Regions from separate parts of the Homo sapiens genome. Here all the other regions are linked to region 1. The links are contacts of gene promoters, found by promoter capture Hi-C in blood cells and fetal thymus (Javierre and others, 2016). All regions are on one chromosome and are shown on one strand. The core of a region is centred on a gene start or on the middle of the fragment in contact, and the rest is flanking DNA. Distances in the headings are between cores, read along the strand shown.

Region 1 (3,806 bases), core at 478-2,977:
AAGTTAAAACCTGTAAAAAAGATAAAAGGTTGGAAGTTAAAACTATAGTTAATTCACCTGAAACAAACATCTGATCCGGACATTTGGCATGATTCTGTTTGTATCAAACGATGAAAAATCGGCCGGGCGCGGTGGCTACTGCACTACAGCCTGGGCAACAGAGCCAGGCTGTGTCTCAAGAAAAAAAGAAAAAAAAAAAAAAAAAAAAAAAAAAAAGATCAAAGCACTTGTTACTGCATTTGAAATCCTGGATAGAAAAGATGTACAAGTGCCTCAACACAGTTCCTAAACTGCCTAGGAATTCTACTGCTTGTGAGAGGGTTTACATATTTTCTTAGCTTGACCTCTAATGGAAGAAAGGTCGTGTCAAGAACTATCCTTTTGGCCGGGCGCGGTAGCTCACGCCTGTAATCCCAGCACTTTGGCAGGCTAAGGCGGGCGGATATCTTGAGGTCAGGAGGTCCAGACCACCCTGGCCAAAATAGCGAAACCCCGTCTCTATTAAAATACAAAAATTAGCCGGGCGTAGTGACGGGCGTCTGTAATTCCAGCTACTCGGGAGGCTGACGCGCCAGGATCACTTGAACCCGGGAGATGGAGGTTACAGTGAGCAGAGATCGCGCCACTGCACTTCAGCCGGGGCCACGGAGCGCGAGACTCCTTCGTCTCAAACAAACAAACAAACAATTCTGGCCGGGCGCGGTGGCTCACGCCTGTAATCCTAGCACTTTGGGAGGCCGAGGCGGGCGGATCACGAGGTCAGGAGATCGAGACCATCCTAACACGGTGAAACTACGTCTCTACTAAAAATACAAAAAATTAGCCAGGCGTGTTGGCGGACGCCTGTAGTCCCAGCTACTTGGAAGGCTGAGGCAGGACAATGGCGTGAACCCGGGAGGCAGAGCTTGCAGTGAGCAAGATCGCGCCACTGCACTCCAGGCTGGGCAACATAGCGAGACTCCGTCTCAAAAAAAAAGAAAAAAAAAAAAAGAATCCTTTTGGAGAGGGAGCTTGTAGTTTAAGTAACTTAAACATCCACGTATAATAAAGCCACTTAGAAGGCGGTGCATTTTCACACGTTCTCAAACCAGGCCTGGGTTTTTCCGCGCAAGCTAAGGCCTCATTCCTACTGGGTAGGAGAGAAACATTGCAGCAAAATCCACACAAAGAGCTCTTTTCACTTGTCCTCAAAACCTCACGGGTCGCAAATCCGGGCTAAACGGCTCAGGGGCCTGGCTGGGGAACTGGGCCGAAGGTGGAACGGATCCCAGCCACCTCGGGGCCAGGAAAAGATGAAGTGTCGCAGGCCCGGCGTCCCCGCCCTCCGCCTGAGGCAACGGAGCATCTCTCTTCGAGTAGCCCATTTTCCAGAGAGTCTCCTCGGCTGCGAAAGCCAGACGAAGAGGGACCCAAAGCCACCGCAGCGGCAAGAGCCGGAGAACCACTGAGGGACAGCGCCCCCTGCAGAGGCGGTTGAACCGCTTCCCACAGCGCTGGGCGGGGCGTCGCGCAGTCCCTGGGCGCTGATTGGGCACTCCGTGTCCCCTCCCCCTCGGCCCGGCGCTGCCTCTGTCTCCTTTGACCTCGATTTCAAGCCATGCGCTGAGCTTCGGTTGGCCCGGCTTCCTTGAGGCGTAAGCTCGGTCTGTCCAATGAGGAGCGAGCGTCGCGGGGGCCGTCGGGAAGGGCGGCCGACCCATATAAGCAGCCTGCGGGGCGTTCCCTCGGGTTGTGGTTGGTGTGCGGGTTTCGGTTGGAGGACTCGTTGGGGAGGTGGCCTGCGCTTGTAGAGACTGCATCCCCGAGACGATGGCGGAGGGAGATAATCGCAGCACCAACCTGCTGGTGAGTCCTGGCTGCCTGTCCCCCGGGAGCCGAGCGAGGCCTCCAGACGTCCGTGGGCTCAAACACCGCGGCCTCGTCCCTGTCACCCGCCGCGGGCCCGGCCCTTCTCTCCCTGGGCAGGCGACGATGCCTGGCCCTCGGGCTTCTTGGGTGACTCCTGGGTGTCGAACCCTTACCTTTCCTGGGGACGGTGCGCGACGGGGCGAGGAGGGCGCGTGATTCATCACCGCGAGTAGGAGTCGAGGAGGAAGTGGGAGGCAGAGGGGCTGCGACACTAGCCTGGGGTGCGGGTGGGGGCAGAAGGCCTCCTGGGGCCTGTCCAGCGCTTTCGCGGCTCAGGCCCCAGCCGTATTCGGCTTTCCCCGTCTTTGATCTTAACCTGGATGTGCCTGCCTTCTTTTCCCCCTAAAACTTGGACAAGGGTGGAGGGTCAAAGGGCTACTGCCCAGAATTTATCTTAGAGCTGGTACAACTTAAAACGACAGGGAGGCTGCGAGCTCACCGTGGGGAACCGGGAGCGGGGTCCAGCTGAACAGACAATGGGATGTCTTGGCGTTTGTCTGGAATTTGGAAGTCTGGCGGGGGTGGGGTCACAGGACTACTGGAAACAGCTTTAGAGTAATAAGCAGGGATCCGAAGGAACTGCAGTGAGATGGTATCATAGGCGGACACATTTTTATTTGTTATGAATTTAAGCGCACCTTGTGGGCAAAAAACAAGAGAAATATCCTTGCATATTCTCAGTTGCCCTTCCCTGGTGACTGTAGGTCACATACCAGCAATGAAAAACGGAACCAAAGAATTTACTTAGGGGCTTTTGAACTTCCAAGACCCCAGACGCTGGCCAATGACGTGACTTCAGGGCAGTTTTGATTGTGCGTGATTTTATATTTGCTTTTAGAAATGCATGGTTTGTTCCTTTAAACACACGCTCCTTCTAGCATAGTTAGTTCTCAGCGTGGATCTTTTTAAGAGGATTAATTGAAGCACAGAGAAGTAGCTCAAGCCCTGTTGAAATGACAAATCCTGGGCTAGAGCTCCTGCTTCCCAACTCTCCTTCCAGCAGAGCAATATAACTCTAAGGAAAGCAACGCCTTTGGTCGTGGATTTCTTGGATGCAGATCAGTTAACCTCTGTATCTGTTTCCTCCTTGGTAAAATGGGGACAGTAATAACACCTTTTTTTAAGGGTTGTTAGGAAGATTAATTGAAGTATAAATATGAATGCTCAGCAGAGTGCCCACACATAGTAGTCTCTTTCACTAGTATTAAGCATGGAATATAAAGTCAGAAATATTGAGATCACACTAGTGCTCAGCGTGGCACAGATAGCGAGCGTCTTTGTTAAGATTAAGTGCCTTGTTCTGTCATTTGCATGATTTCCAGTGAATGACTTTTACAAAGAGACAAGGTCTCAGCCCAGGCTGGTCCCGATCTCCTGGGCTCAAGCAATCCCCCCCGACCCGCCAAGTGCTGGGTTTACAGGCGTGATCCACTGCATCCAGCCTGATAACATAGAGACACTTGAGTTTCTTATTCTAAATTTTTCTTCCTTTACCAAAACCAGCTTTAAGGGCTTTTGCCACATTAGCTCATCCTAGAGGCCCACTTTCGGCTGTTCAGAGTCAGAGAAATTTGAAGTATAATCAAAATGACATCCTGAGTGGTAAGAAACACTGTATTGAGGAGGTATATTGACCGTAAAATGCCACCTTAATTTGGTGAAAGTAGTTTTCCTTAATTGTCCAATGAATGTCAACATCTGAGTGATTCCATTACACAAAGAGCTATTTTAGAAATTGAATGCTATTCAGGGAAAGTCTTTCCTAATGGATTTAGAAGGGTTTAAATCAATAAGATGACAAAAACAACGGATCAATTCTAACCATCTGAAATAAACAAACTTAAAAAAAGTTATTTCATTTTATTAATACTCTGGGCACTGCCACGATTCCCCGCATG
Region 2 (3,806 bases), core at 581-3,080, 170 kb before region 1:
GAGCAATTCCTAAATTAGTTATGAACTGTAGCACCATCCACATTTTTGCAAAATTGTTTTTTTCAGACAAGGTCTCACTCTGTCACCCAGGCTGGAGTACAGTGCTGATCATAGCTCACTGCAGCCTCAACCTTCTGGATTCCAGTGATCCTCCCACCTCAGCCTCTTGAGTAGCTGGGACTACAGGTACATACCACAACACTTGGCTAATAAAAAAATAAAAAATAAAAAACTCTATATACACAGGGTCTTAATTTGTTGCCCAGGCTGGTCTCAAGCTTCTGGGTTCAATCAATCCTTCTGCCTCCACCTCCCAAAATGCTTGTATTACAAGCATGAGCCACCACAACCATCCAGTGTTCATATTTTTAATCATGTTTGGGAGACATTTTCGTGGAGGATTCTAGAATTTTCCCATATATGTTACCGCATGAGTAGAAGACATCTGTGTGGGTGCTAGTACGTCTATAAGAATAAAGTGGCTGGGCGTGGTGGCTCACGCTTGTAATCCCAGCACTTTGGGAGGCCATGGAGGACAGATCACCAACTCAGGAGATCGAGACCATCCTGGCTAACACAGTGAAACCCTGTCTCTAATAAAAATACAAAAAAATTAGCTGGGCATGATGGTGGGTGCCTGTAGTCCCAGCTTACTCGGGAGGCTGAGGCAGGAGAATGGTGTGAACCTGGGAGGCAGAGCTTGCAGTAAGCCAAGATCGCACCACTGCACTCCAGCCTGGGCAACAGAGCAAGACTCCGTCTCAAAGGAAAAATAAATAAATAAATAAATAAATAAATAAATAAATAAATAAATAAAAGAATAAAATAAAGCATTCAGACCGGGTGCGGTGGCTCACACCTGTAAATTCCAGCACTTTGGGAGGCCAAGGCAGGCAGATCACTTGAGGTCAGGAGTTCCAGACCAGCCTTGCCAACATAGAGAAACCCCGTCTCTACTAAACATACGAAAATTAGCTGGGCATGGTGGTGTGTGCCTGTAGTTCCAGCTACTCCAGAGGCTGAGGCAGGAGAATCGCTTGCACCCGGGAGGTGAAGGCTACAGTGAGCTGAGATCATGTCACTGCACTCCAGCCTGGGTGACAGAATGAGACCCTGTCTCCATAAATAAATAAATAAATAAATAAATAAATAAGCAGTTGCTGTAGAGTGCTAAGCCTTGCTCCTACCGGGATATCTTCTCCCAAGAGAATCCCTAACTAACAAAGTACTAAGTTCTGTGGCATAGATTCTGAGTAAAGGTTTCTTTCTTCTTCCTCATTAGGAAAAAGTGTTCAGTGATTGCAAAAAAAAAAAAAAAAGTAATTATAATAATGTGTATAAATTCTTCTAAGAGGGCTGGGTGTGATGGCTCACACCTGTAATCCTGGCACTTTGGGAGGCCGGAGGGGATCACAAAGTCAGAAGTTCAAGACTTGCCTGGCCAGTATGGTGAAACCCTGTCTCTACTAAAAATACAAAAATTAGCCGGGTGTGGTGGCGCCTGCCTGTAGTCCCAGCTACTCAGGAGGCTGAGGCAGGAGAATTGCTTGAACCTGCAAGGCAGAGGTTGCAGTAAGCTAAGATCATGCCACTGCACTCCAGCCTGGGCAACAAGAGCAAGACTTCATCTCAAAAAAATAAAATAAATAAATTCTTATAAGAAGCTTGTATTAGGAATGTTTTCGTTTGCAATTAAGAGAATATCCAGGCCAGGCACGGTGGCTCACGTCTGTAATCCCAGCACTTTGGGAGGCAGAGGTGGGCGGAACATGAGGTCAGGAGATCGAGACCATCCTAGCTAACACGATGAAACCCCATCTCTACTAAAAATACAAAAATTAGCCGGGCGTGGTGGCAGGCACCTGTAATCCCAGCTGCTCAGGAGGCTGAGGCAGGAGAATCGCTGGAACCCGGGAGGCAGAGGTTGCAGTGAGCCGAGATCTCACCACTGTACTCCAGTCTGGGTGACAGAGTCAGACTCCATCTCAAAAGCTTTGACCTCTGATAACATCCAGAAAAAAACATTCTTCCCCTCAGATCCAAGAAGATGAAGACATGATCAAAACCTGAATGCTGGACTATTTCAGAAGTGAGGGGTCCCTTGGCCTGAAAGATCCAGGGCTAGGATCTGCCTCAACATACCTTATTGTAAATGGTCAAATTTTTTTTTTTTGGAAACGGGGTCTTGCTCTGTCGCCCAGGCTGGAGTGCAGAGGCGCAATCTCGGCTCACTGAAAGCTCCGCCTCCCGGGTTCATGCCATTCTCCTGCCTCAGCCTCCCGAGTAGCTGGGACTACAGGTGCCCGCCACCACGCCTGGCTAATTTTTTGTATTTTTAGTAGAGACAGGGCTTCACCACGTTAGCCAGGATGGTCTCGATCTCCTGACCTCGTGATCCACCCGTCTCGGCCTCCCAAAGTGCTGGGATTACAGGCGTGAGCCACCGCGCCCGGCCTCGTAAATGGTCAAATTTGAAGTCCTCCAATCAGACTCTGCCAAGCCGACATTTTCAAATCCTTTCCTTTGCCCTCTGGTCCATTAAAACTTGCCCCAGGCCCCAAATAGAGGAGACAGATTTGAGCCTGACTCCTGTCTCCTTGCTGGCTGATTTTGCAATAAAACCTTTTTCATTTTTTCAAAAGCCAGTGCTGTAGTTATTGGCTTCTGTGCACATCAGGAAGCGAGCCCATTTGCTCCATAATAAATTGACAAAAGCAGATCAATGAAGAAAAAAGGATCCACAATTTATTCATGTGCCTATGAACACATGAGCCATACACAAAGCATGAGACTCGAAGAGAGACCAGGTGGTTGAAAATTAAATATTCTCTTCATGGCCGGGCACGGTGGCTCATGCCCGCAATCCCAGCACTTTGGGAGGCTGAGGCGGGCAGATCAGGAGTTCAAGATCAGCCTGGCCAACATGGCAAAACCCCGTCTTTACTAAAAATACAAAAATTAGCCAGTCATGGTGGCGCATGCCTGTAATCTCAGCTACTCGGGAGGCGGAGGCAGGAGATTCACTTGAACCCAGGAGGCAGAGGTTGCAGTGAGCCGAGTTTGTGCCACTGCACTCCAGCCTGGATGACAAAGCAAGACTCTGTCTCAAAAAAAAAAAAAAAAAAAACTCTCTTCATAGGAGAGATGTATGGACCTGGAGACAGATATTATTTTGAAAGTGATTCTCTTTGCAAGCTGGATGAGACAGACAGGTTTGATGTACCAGGTGAGGGGTGGAACTGCACAGGAACAAATATTGGCTTATTATGCAGGTAAAAGTCCTCCAGGTAATCCCTTAGAGCTGCCCTCAGAAGAACAGATGAAAAGTCTGGATGTGGTGACGACTCCCAGTCTCTTCTGGTTACTTGATGAGATTCCTAGGGAAGGTGTCTTAGACAATTGCATTTCTTTGGAGATAAGTGTTCTTAGATAAGGACAGAGTCCCTCCTGTTGCTTCAGGAAAGAGGATCAGAAAGACAAGGAGGTGAGTGAAGGTCACAGAGGGACCTCGAGGCTGCTTCTTTAGATCAGTAAAAAGGACAAAGCACCATATTTTTGGGGTATTGTTTTCTGAGCCCTAATGACATTCATAGCATATAGAGTTTTTGTCCTCATGGTTACAAGATGGCTGCCACATCTCCAAACATCATATCCCTGTTCAAGACAATAAAAAAGGTTTAAGGACAAAACCAGCAGAAGTTGGCATTATGGCCATCCAGAGATGCAAGAAAGTCTGGAAAAGTGAAGATCTGGTTTTCTAGACTCTAGAATGAGGTTCTGAATAATATCAGGTGATCCAACCAACA
Region 3 (3,806 bases), core at 911-3,410, 150 kb before region 1:
ATTGTACATATGCAACACAGAGACAAGTTCATAACACAGCTTTGGGTTATACATTGACTTACTTGCAGTTATCTCTTTCTTGTGCCAGCTCTGAAGCTCCTTGAGGGTAAGGAGTATGTCTATTTTATTCACCATTGCATATAGTAGGTACCTTAAAACATATTTATTAAATGAGCAAAGCAGCCTGACGCAGTGGCTCACGCCTGTAATCCCATCACTTTTAGAGGCCAAGGCAAATGGTATCACTTGATCTCAGGAGTTTGAGACCAGCCTGGGCAACATGGCGAAACCCCATCTCTACAAAAAAGTTTCCTAAAAAATTAGCTAGGATCGGCCATGGTGGCTCATTCCTGTAATCCCAACATTTTGGGAGGCCGAGGCAGGTGGATCACCTGAGGTCAGGAGTTTGAGACCAGCCTGGCCGACATGGTGAAACCCCATCTCTACTAAAAATACAAAAATTAGCCAGACATGGTGGCACGCACCTATAGTCCCAGGTACTCAGGAGGCTGAGGCAGGAGAATCATTTGAACCTGAGAGGCGGAAGTTGCAGTGCATTCCAGCCTGGGCAACAGAGCCAGACTCTCTCGGGGGAAAAAAAAAAAATTAGCCAGGTGTGGTGGCATGTGCCTGTAGTCCCAGCTACTTGGGAGGCTGAAGTGGGAGGATTGCTTGAGCCCAGGAGGTTGAGACTGCAGTGAGCCTATATCGTACCACTGCACTCCAGGCTGAATGACAGAGCAAGACCCTGTCTCAAAAAAAAGAAAAAAAAAAGAAAATGAGCAAACCTAGTCATTTTGAAGGCCAATGTTTGACATGTATTTTAGAGAGAAAACAAAATTGGTCCCTTGCCTAATATATGGTGGTGTTTTGCTATATAATTTATGGTCTACATGTAACAAAACAAAAGAAAGCAATATTTAAAAACTGCCAGGAGGCAAAAATTAGCCTTACCACACACCAATCCTGCCTGGGTTCCCTCCAGGGCTGGAAAAACCATTTAGAAGCAATTGCTGAAATTTTGTTTGTAGCCTAATTAAATAACCAGCTCTCACCAGGAGTTTTAATGGCCAGCCTAAGAGGTCCAGAAAGTTTTTAAGGCTTAATGACCTGCATACACTCTCAGCCCTACAGGATTCTTTAATATCTGCATAATTTTCTCTGTGGGAATGCTTTATCTGAATAGACTGTTTTGCTTTAGAAAATATTTTTGCAAACTCTAAGAAAATATTCCAGACAAGCCATAATCCCAATGATAACAGAGCTTCCTACTGCAATACATGAGTTAATGAACACAAAGAGGTTTGTGGAATGCCTGACCTATAGCAGGTGCTTAATAAATGGTAGTTGCGGGGGCGCAGTGCCTCAGGCCTGTAATCCCAGCACTTTGGGAGGCCAAGGCGGGACCTTGGGATCACCCAAGGTCAGGAGCTCAAGACCAGTCTGGACAACGTGGTGAAACCCGGTCTCTACTAAAAATACAAAAATTAGCTGGGCATGGTGGCGCACGCTTGTAATCCCAGCTACTCAGGAGGCTGAGGCAGGAGAATCGCTTGAACCTGGGAGGTGGAGGTTGCAGTGAGCCGATATCACGCCACTGCACTGCAGCCTGGGCGACAGAGTGAAAACTGTGTCTCTAAATAAATAAATAAATAAATGGTAGTTGCCTTCCCACATCTCAAGGGCTATTTAAAAATCCTACCTATTAGCCGGGCAGGGTGGCATTTACCTGTAGTCCCAGCTACTTGGGAGACTAAGGTGGTAGGATCGCCTGAGCCCAGGAGTTCGAGGCTGCAGTGAGCTATGATTGTGCCACTGCACTCAGGCTGGGTGACAGAGCAAGACTCTGTCTCTTAAAAATATATATATATATATATTCTTATGGGAGCCAGATGGGAGAATGTTCAATGTCAGGAATGTCCCTAAAGAGACCAAGCTTGTTGCTCCAAAAAGTTATTTCTGAATCAGCGTAATGTTTTCTCCAGTTTTTACTTCACATTTTGCATTTAGAAAGGGAGAAAAGATGGCCAGGCACAGTGGCTCATGCCTGTGATCCAGCACTTTGGGAGGCCGAGGCAGGTGGATCACCTGAGGTCAGGAGTTCGAGACCAGCCTGGCCAAAATGGAGAAAACCCCATCTCTACTGAAAATATAAAAATTAGCTGGGCGTGGTGGTGGGTGCCTGTAATCGCAGCTACTCGGGAGGCTGAGGCGGGAGAATCACTTAAAACTCAGGAGGTGGAGATTGCAGTCAGCCAAGATTGCACCATTGCACTCCAGCCTGGGAGACAAGAGCAAAACTCTGTTTCAAAACAATTAATTAATTAATTAGTTAATTTAAAAGGAGAAAAGAAAAAAGCATGCTGATTTACAAATAAGCTTCAAGATGAAGCAGAGGTAAGGCCCAGAAGCTGTTTTTAAATATTTATTTTCTAGCCTGGCCAACATGGTAAAAGCCCAGCTCTACTAAAAATACAAAAATTAACCAGGCATGGTGGTGCACGCCTGTCATCCCAGCTATTCAGGAGGCTGAGGCAGGAGAATCGCTTGAACCTGGGAGGCAGAGGTTGCAATGAGCTGAGATTGTGCCACTGCACTCCAGCCTGGGTGACAGAGAAAGAACCTGTCTCTAAATAAATAAATAAATATCTTCCCCCAGGAAATTTCCTTTACTTACCTATTTAATTTCTTTCAGGGGCATTTTCATAACCAGTAGCCTGAGTTAAGTGGCACTTAAAAAAAAACAAAACAAAACAAGGTCTCAGTCTGTTGTAGAGACTGGAGTACAGTGGCCCAATCATAGCTCATTGCAGCCTTGAACTCTTGGGCTCAAGCAATCCTCCTGCCTCAGCCTCCTGAGTAGCTGGGACTGCAGGTGCATACCACCATGCCCGTCTAATTTTTAAAATTTTTTTTTGTAGAGATGAGGTCTTGCTATGTTGCCCAGGTTGGTCTCAAAATCCTAGGCTCAAACCATCCTCCCTCCTTGGCCTACCAAAATGCTAGGTTTTTTTTTTTGTTGTTTGTTTGCTTTGAGACGGAGTCTCGCTCTGTCACCCAGGCTGGAGTGCAGTGGTGAAATCTCGGCTCACTGCAAGCTCCACCTCCCGGGTTCACACCATTCTCCTGCCTCAGCCTCCCAAGTAGCTGGGAATACTGGCACCCGCCACCAAGCCCGGCTAATTTTTTGTATTTTTTTAGTAGAGATGGGGTTTCACCGTGTTAGCCAGGATGGTCTCGATCTTCTGACCTCGTGATCCACCCGCCTCGGCCTCCCAAAGTGCTGGGATTACAGGCATGAGCCACCGTGCCCGGCCGCAAAATGCTAGGATTATAGGTGTGAGCCACCATGCCCTCATAAGAAAATTCTTACTCCTTGGACCATATCTTGGTGTCTCTATAGCTATAGCTCAGTTCTTCTACCCTTGGGATAAAAACTAAGGTGGTTAAGCCATGATACTGTAAAGGAGTCATGGGATTTTACTGACATAAAGGTGATGTTCTACCACTGTTCTAACTTAGGAAATCTGCAGCATGCCCAGGCACAGGAGTTTACCCTCCCATCAGCACCACCCTCTGAGGACAAGCCCCATCACCCTCTGCTCTAGAGAGGTGGCAGTTGTCCTGAACTATGGCGGAGGCAGTTGTCCACGTGGAGTGGATAGATTGGAGAGCTGGCAAGTCCTGTGGCATAAATAGAGGACCACAGGCTGGCTACAGTTGGTAGACACTTCTCCCCAGGTGGCAAGAGAAGGATGGCCAATGCAGCGTCTGGACACTGACAATTTATACTTTCTTAAGTGAAG

Evidence for each region. Contacts are between HindIII fragments. The CHiCAGO score rates a contact against its expected background, and 5 or more counts as called.
Region 2: a contact is called between a fragment that was not itself captured here and the fragment with the promoter of ARL6IP1 in region 1, in 1 of 17 cell types (naive CD4 T cells). The highest score is 5.7, in naive CD4 T cells.
Region 3: a contact is called between a fragment that was not itself captured here and the fragment with the promoter of ARL6IP1 in region 1, in 8 of 17 cell types (fetal thymus, activated CD4 T cells, erythroblasts and 5 more). The highest score is 9.1, in fetal thymus.

What each region holds. Positions count from the first base shown.
Region 1 is chr16:18,799,470-18,803,275 of GRCh38, reverse strand. It overlaps ARL6IP1 (ARL6 interacting reticulophagy regulator 1), which reads left to right and starts at 1,727. Exons shown (of 6, transcript NM_015161.3): 1 at 1,727-1,845. The coding sequence starts at 1,810. RefSeq lists enhancers at 1,184-1,423, 1,804-1,883, 2,104-2,223. The HindIII fragment of the contact is 8,806 bases long and covers 1-3,806 here.
Region 2 is chr16:18,971,421-18,975,226 of GRCh38, reverse strand. No RefSeq gene overlaps it. Among named protein-coding and RNA genes, the nearest start is that of TMC7, 11 kb to the left of the region's middle. RefSeq lists an enhancer at 2,438-2,938. The HindIII fragment of the contact is 328 bases long and covers 1,667-1,994 here.
Region 3 is chr16:18,950,997-18,954,802 of GRCh38, reverse strand. No RefSeq gene overlaps it. Among named protein-coding and RNA genes, the nearest start is that of SMG1, 26 kb to the right of the region's middle. The HindIII fragment of the contact is 443 bases long and covers 1,939-2,381 here.